2 separate regions of the Homo sapiens genome follow, and region 1 is linked to region 2. Evidence: promoter capture Hi-C in 16 types of primary human blood cells and fetal thymus (Javierre and others, 2016). All regions are on one chromosome and are shown on one strand. The core of a region is centred on a gene start or on the middle of the fragment in contact, and the rest is flanking DNA. Distances in the headings are between cores, read along the strand shown. Region 1 overlaps MITF (melanocyte inducing transcription factor). Region 2 holds the start of MITF (melanocyte inducing transcription factor).

Region 1 (4,006 bases), core at 711-3,210, 170 kb before region 2:
AGCCCAAGCTCTATGTTGGCCCCTTTCAGCCACAGTTGGAGAGGCTGGGACACAGGGCACCAAGTCCCTAGACTGCACACAGCACAGGGATTGTGCTGGGAATGGCACTTGGAACCACTTTTTCCTCCTGGGCCTCCAGGCCTGTGATGGGAAGGGCTGCCATGAAGGTCTCTGACATGGCCTGGAGACATTTTCCCCATGATCTTGGGGATTAACATTAGGCTCCTTGCTACTTATGCAAATTTCTGAAGCCAGCTTGAATTTCTCCTGAAAAAATGGGTTTTTCTTTTCTACTGCATCATCAGGCTGCAAATTTTCTGAACTTTTATGCTCTGTTTTCCTTTTAAAATGGAATGGTTTTAACAGCACCCAAAGTCACCTTTTGAATACTTTGCTGCTTAGAAATTTCTTCCGCCAGATACCCTAAATCATCTCTGTCAAGTTTCAAAGTTCCACAAATCTCTAGGGCAGGGAAAAATGCTGCCAGTCTATTTGCTAAAACATAACAAGAGTCACCTTTGCTCCAGTTCCCAACAAGTTCCTCATCTCCATCTGAGACCACCTCAGCCTGGGCCTTATTGTTCATATCACTATCAGAATTTTAGTCAAAGCCATTCAACAAGTGTCTTGGAGGTTCCAAACTTTCCCACATTTTTCTGTCTCCTTCCTAGCCCTCCAAACTGTTCCAACCTATGCCTGTTACACAATTCCAAAGTCGCTTCCACATTTTTGGGTATCGTTTCAGCAACACCCCACTCTGCTGGTACCAATTTACTCTATTAGTCCATTTTCACACTGCTGATAAAGACTTACCTGAGACTGGGAGGAAAAAGAGGTTTAATTGGATTTACAGTTCCACATGGCTGGGAAGGCCTCAGAATCATGGCAGGAGGTAAAAGGCACTTATATGGTGGTGGCAAGAGAAAATGAGGAGGAAGCAAAAACAGAAACCCCTGATAAACCCATCAGATCTCGTGAGACTTATCCATTCACTATCATGAGAACCACATGGGAAAGACCAGCCCTCATGATTCAATTACCAACCCCCCGGGTCCTTCCCACAACATGTGGGAATTCTGGGAGACACAATTCAAGTTGAGATTTGGTTGGGGACACAGCCAAGCCGTATCACCATGTCTTTAAAAAACAAACAAACAAAAAAACCTAATAGAACTTAGCAGCTGGTAAAGGAAATCACTATATCCTATAACTATAAGCATCAAAGATATTTTCTAAGGACTTATTTCACATAAATAAAACAAACATAAATAATCTCAACTTAAAAGCAAAACTGATAGGTGCAAAGGAACTAACCTTAATACAAATCTTAAAAGACTGTGTTAGCTCACGTAGGGACAAATATTCTCAGATTGTCACTTATTCCTTTCTTCTAACAAGAACAAAAATCCTAAGTGGAAGAATTACCAGATAAAAGGATATAAAAACCACTGAAGCTTCTGATGCATTTTGCCAAATTTTCTTATGGGAAAGTTGTACCTAATTTCATTATTACCAGTAGTGCTCATTCATCCCACATGTTCATCAAAGGTTGAATGGCAGTGTGGTAAACAAACCACAAATATCAATGTGGTAAAGAAACAAAAAAAAACTTACTATTATTTCCATATGATATTTAAAGAATAATGATTTCATTAAGTTTGTTGAAGTAAAACTATTTTTTGAATTGCCAAATTTAAAAAACTTCTACTCAGTACTTTTTAAAAAATGGGGCTGGTGTACAAAAAGAAAATATTAGTTTGAAAACTCCTGCCAAATAAAGGAGCGATAAATGATGTAGAAGAGTTTTTTTTTTATTGTTTTTGCTTTGTCTTTTTATTTCAATAGACAAAGCAGAAAATGGAAATTATTCTTCACTTTTCAACTGCATTGCAGACCAGGAGAGACATTCCTACACCCAAGGGGAGCACAGCTCCTTCTGGAATGTTTTCTCACTATGTAAAGTGGTACAAAACTGAATCACACCCCTAGAGTTAATTGGGTGGCCCAACCACTTTGAGAACATTTCTGTATCCTTCTGTCTCATGTATCCATCTAGATTCTATAGCAAGATCAAAAGGCAAAAGCCCCATAAGGTTTCCTGCAAAAGAGTTTTAGGGAAAAATAAAACAAAACAAACAACAACAAAAAAAGCTGGATATTTTGGTTTACTTCCCTCATTCTTGAAATGAAACTCTTAAAATAATAAATAAATAATTTCCTCTTCCTTTCAAAAAACCATTTGTAACACTTACTGTTTTTAAGCCTCTTCTGAGTCAACTTTAAGAAACTCTCTTTGAGCCCAGCAGAATATGATTTTCTTGTGTTCACAGAGAAAACTGCTTATTCTCAAGAGCAATTACTGTGTTTTGGAGCTTAGCCCTCATACACTTAAAATGTCCGTGAAGAGGTGACTGGTCTGAGGAAAGCCTCAGACTACTGAAAAAGAGAGCCAATGATCTAAGCTTAGGTAAAGCAGATGGTCTACCCAGACTTAACAGTGCTCAAAATTACCAGGGATAGACAGGTCAGGCCTCCTGCCTGAAATCAAGGGTGATTTCAAATACAAATTTTGGCACCATAATACAGGCCATTAGACCAGGATCTGAGGAGAATACTACCTCCTGCTTATGAAGTGATTTCATCTACATGATCTCAAAGTTGTCCATCATGAGTCTCTCCTCCAGTAGAATATAACTTTCATGAAGAAAGAGTTGTTTGTTCATTTGCTTGTTCTGCTGCAATATCCCTGGCACCTATAACAATGCCTGGTACATAGATATCCAATAGATTTGTGCTGAATTATACAATGAATAACTCGTTCATTTATTTATTCAACCAGTTTGACACACAGAGCCCCATCTCTAAAACCCACATGACTTTTTCATCCAGTGATTCAGAAGAAATCATAGACAGGAAAGTTTTGGACATAGAAAGTAGGAGTTCCAGAGCTCAATGGACGACTTACGTTATATTTCAAGTTTGAATCCCTTTCATTCTTTAGTACCAAAGGTACTGTAGCATAGCGATTAGGAACACAAGATTATGGAGGGAAAGGGGAGAGGATCAAACACTAGCTCTATTACTTCTGGTTGTGTAGCTTTGGGTAACTTGTTAAACCTTTCTTCAGGCAAAACAAGGATTTATGGTGCCTACCTCACATGGACAATGTAAGTACCACATAGGGCAATTTACATAAAGTATTTAGCAGAGTGACCAGCATATATTAAGTAGCCAATTAAAAAAAGCTGCTATTTTTGTTGTAGATGTGTGGTCAAAGAAGCAGAAAGGGAGTGCGTTGACAGCTCCTATTTTCATTCACATCCAACAGTCTATAGGTTGCTAGTCTCCATTCTAGATGCTCTCCATCTGGGCATATTACACAATAAACAAACAAAAACCAAATCATAGTCCTGGACAGATCCTACAATCCACTTCAGAATCTACCAGGGTTTAATTGGCCTTGTGACATGTACTGTGAAGTCACTTCCGAAGTGATAAATAACTACAGGATTAAAGACCATGTAAAATAAGACTTAGAAAATGTTAAAGATTATACAAGTACACTTGCATATAACTCATCCCTCTGCTATTTGGGAAAATTCTGAAATGCTTCAGATAAATCACCTTCAGAGAAAGATAACTAGTAGAATGACAAATCATGGCACTTATTAACCAAAGCAACAAAGCAAAGTTTCAGTTTTACCTCCAATGATTGACATCATATACACAACTATTTACTCATTATATAATATTTTACTACAAAAAACAACAAAAAACAATTTGGAGGTCAGACAATACTTGACTCCAAGACTTACTTGCTACACTAATCAAGAGAGTTTGGTATTGGTGTCAAGGAAGAAAAACAGACCAGGACAGAGATTCTAGAAATAGACCCACACATATAATCAACTGATTTCTGACAAACATACAAAGGCAATGAAAGGGAAAAAGGATAGTTTTTTCAACAAATGATGTTGGAACAATTGGTCATCCATATTTACAAAAA
Region 2 (3,500 bases), core at 25-2,524:
TCCTAGCTCACAGCTTAGAGGGGTGGAAATAAACCCTTCTCAGCTATTCCAGCCTCCATTGACCATGTCCCTTTTAGGAAACATTGTAAACGAGAAGTACGAGGCGTCCAGAGTGGCTGCCGGACAGAGAGAACGGAAGACACCCAATCCATTTCGACAGACAAGTGGGAATGGAGGCAGCAAAAAGGGTGGCTCAAGGGAAGTGGGCACTAGAGGGGATGGGGCATCAGAGCAGTGGATGTCTTCACTCCTCGTCTAAAAAGTTTCTGAAGTCCCCAGCGAATTAAACACGTGTCTCTGCCAAGCGGGGTACACTCCCAGTAACCCCCAAGACCAAGGCTCATTTCCCCTCTGCAGGTAAGGCCTGGATTTGAATGGGACTCTATTTCCAGAGAGTTTAACTTGAACAAGGGGACACGCCCACCGCTGCCCTGGCCCCTCCCGCGCCCGCTAGCAGCGGTCTGGAGGTGAGAGGCGGAGCCCAGAGAAACCTCACCTGCAGGAGCCCAGAGGCTAGTTTCCCCACAGAGACCGGACTCCCAAGAGGTGACTCCAAGCGAACTAATTGCTTCCCTCCAATGTCGCATCTCAGTCCACCCAAAGCTCTCCCTCTCCGAGCCCTCAACCCGCTGGGATCTTCAGAAAGGGGGTTCACTAGAACTCTTTCTCCCCCATCCCACCGGGACAGCGTCCCGGCCCGGCGCTCCTCCTCCCCCACATCGCGCCAGGTCGCTCCCCAGCCCCCAATCAGTCTCAGCAGCTGGCATCCTCGGCCGAGGGTCCCCGCGCCTGGACGCTTCGTCCCCGGCGACCCGCCGCGCCCCCGCGAAGTGCGCTCCATCCGAGCTTCCTAAAGGCGCACTTGGGCCGGGCAGGCGCGGCCCCCAACTGCGAGGGGCAGTTCGCCCTCTGCTCCGGGGCAAGGGCACTGGGTCCTTGTCCCAGAGCTCCCGCGACCCGCTCTCCTCGCCCCAGAGTGGCAGACGCAGTGCCCCCCAGCCGCCCGGTGCGCCTCTGCCCAGCTGTCACCACTCACCTGCTCTTCAGCGGTTGACTTTTGAGTTCGTAATAGGTTTTGGGCTCTTCATGAAACTCCTCCCCGACTTCGAAATCCGGCACGATCCCCGATTCGGACTGCATGGCTCCCGCTTCCCGTCCTTCCACTGCTGGAAAGTGAGAACAGAGCCCGGGGGCGGAGGGAAGGTAGCTGGGCCTGGGTCCCCCGAGCCGTGCGCCCCGGCGCAGTGCCGAGCTCTGCCCGCTCGCCGGCTCGCGGCCGCCCGCCCCAGCGCGGGGAGTTTACACTCGCACCCGGGCGGGAGGGGCTGGCGGCCGAGCGCCGCCTGGGATCTGTAGTTCGGCCCGGGCGGGGCATTCCCAGCTCGCCTGGGGAGCCGCTCCCACGAAAACTACAGCTCCCAGAAGGCCAGGCGGGGGAGAGGCAACGTGGTGGACACCGCTAGTGCAACTCCTGTTTGGATTCATTGTCAATGTCAGCAGCTCCTCTCCCTCCTCTCTCCCCACTTGCTTCAAGGGTACAGACTTGGCTACTTAATATGAATAAGAATGGACACTGACTGCTCTTCTACCATCGCCCCGACCTCTCAGCTCAGACATCTGCGAGGGCACGCCAAGTGCTTATTTTAAAAATAAAATAGTCAAGGGTTTTGGCACAAGAAAGTTTTAGCATTCGAGCCTGTCTTAAAATAAAAGGACTTCCTATCAGCTCGCATGCTTCCCTGGGCTGCTGCGACATATCAGCTTGTCCTCGGATTGGAACAACGAGGAAGAACTTTCCTTCGCTCTGTAATGAAAACGTTATTGGAGAAATTGTTCTTGTGCGTTCCTTTTCTAGAACTAAGTCTGGACTTTTACAATAGTATTCATCAGTTGAATGGCTCTTTCCCCTTTATCCAAGTAGCCACTTCTAATCTACAGCAGCAATTGAAAGATTCGGTTAATTTTAAAAGGCACAAAGTTACAAAATAGCGTCGTTGCTCTCTGCTTTTAATTTCTCAGTTGACTGGGAGTTCAAATGAGATTTGTCCTAGCATTTCAGGAGTGAAGATGTACAAGTGAACTGTACAAGTGTCCACCCCTTCCCGAGCTTCCCGGAACTCACTTAGGGAAGAGAATTTTAAAACTCTCCGTTGTGGCTCATTTGTACTTCTAGTTCTTCCCTCTGATTAGCTCCAGTAGGACGTGTTCCTTCTTTTCAAAAGTGTTTTGAGGCATCAGGGAGGCAGTATAGAGTTACAGTGGCATTTAAAGGTATAAGACTCAGAGTTGAAATCCCCAGTCCTTCTAAGAAGAGCTGTGCAATCCTGAGCATGTCACTTGGTTCCTAGAAGCCTCCATTTCTTCATCCATAAAAGAAGAGATTGGCAAACCAGTTTTAGAAGATGTTGCAAGGTCAAATGTAAGAGAAAGTGATTTGCAATCTATAAAAACTCTGCTCAGTGGTCATTCTTTATTAGGTCTTGAAGTTATTCCTTTCAGATTAACATCTCATTTTGGTGTTTGGCCTTTCAGAATTAATAAACTAAATGACTGTCCTAGGAGAAAATTCTAAAGAGGCTACAGTGACAACTGGGCACCTCCCAGGAGTTACCCCTTTGCATATCTTGCCTCCCACTGAAACATTTTAATTTCACATCAGAAAAGACATCCAGTAGGATGGATCGATGTTAGGGCTGGAGTTCTCAAGGTGATTTGGAAAAAGTGCAGAAGGCACACTATGTTGCAGTAGCAATTACCAAATTTTCAGAATAAAAATTAGTCCCCAACATACGACTTTTAGGCCCTCCCCTGAAACTATTAAACTATGTCAGAATACCTGAGAACACCCCTAAGGAAAGTGGGAGTTTTGTGCTCATAAAAGTGGGATCCTAGATTCCTTAATAGATGGACTGCTGGAAATTAGCTGTCAAAAGCAAACAAAGAAAACGTGTTTCCTTCATGTTCTCTGGGAGAGAAAGAAGAAAGATCAAACATGAAGGAAACATGCAGTCTAGACTTCTAATCTCATCTGGGCTCTCAATTATCAGTGCTTGGAATATGGGAGGAGGGGTTGTCATAATAACTTATGGATGTTACAGACGTTTAAGGGGTATGGGCCAGAGACACTACACATATTGCACAATAACAAATTTTCTTGTCCAAATTTCAGTGGTATGTATCCCCATTGAGAAACATGGGAAGCTGCCTAATCTTTGGGCTCACCAGAAGTTTTTTAATCTGAGGGAAGCTACGGATCCTCTTCTCAGAAAATACAGATAGAAACAAAACTGTGCATAATTTTGGTCAGCTGACCCACTGAAGGCTATCACAGACTTTATGTTACAACTGCAGTTTATAACTTCTTTAGATCTGCAGTGAAACAGTCTACCCATCACTTATTACATCAAATAGTGACCTTCCAGACCTAAGGGACTAACCTCAAAGGAAAGAAAACTCAGGAAAACCAAGACCTCCGAATTCATCTTCAACTAAGTACACCC

Evidence for each region. Contacts are between HindIII fragments. The CHiCAGO score rates a contact against its expected background, and 5 or more counts as called.
Region 1: a fragment that was not itself captured here is called in contact with the fragment with the promoter of MITF in region 2 in 1 of 17 cell types (M2 macrophages); the score reaches 5.3 in M2 macrophages.

What each region holds. Positions count from the first base shown.
Region 1 is chr3:69,906,163-69,910,168 of GRCh38, reverse strand. All of the region lies in intron 2 of MITF (melanocyte inducing transcription factor), which reads right to left. Among named protein-coding and RNA genes, the nearest start is that of SAMMSON, 92 kb to the left of the region's middle. The HindIII fragment of the contact is 1,008 bases long and covers 1,457-2,464 here.
Region 2 is chr3:69,737,238-69,740,737 of GRCh38, reverse strand. MITF (melanocyte inducing transcription factor) reads right to left here and starts at 1,274. Exons shown (of 10, transcript NM_001354604.2): 1 at 1,037-1,274. The coding sequence starts at 1,140. RefSeq lists a silencer at 1,039-1,338 and a promoter at 1,138-3,480. The HindIII fragment of the contact is 10,451 bases long and covers 1-3,500 here.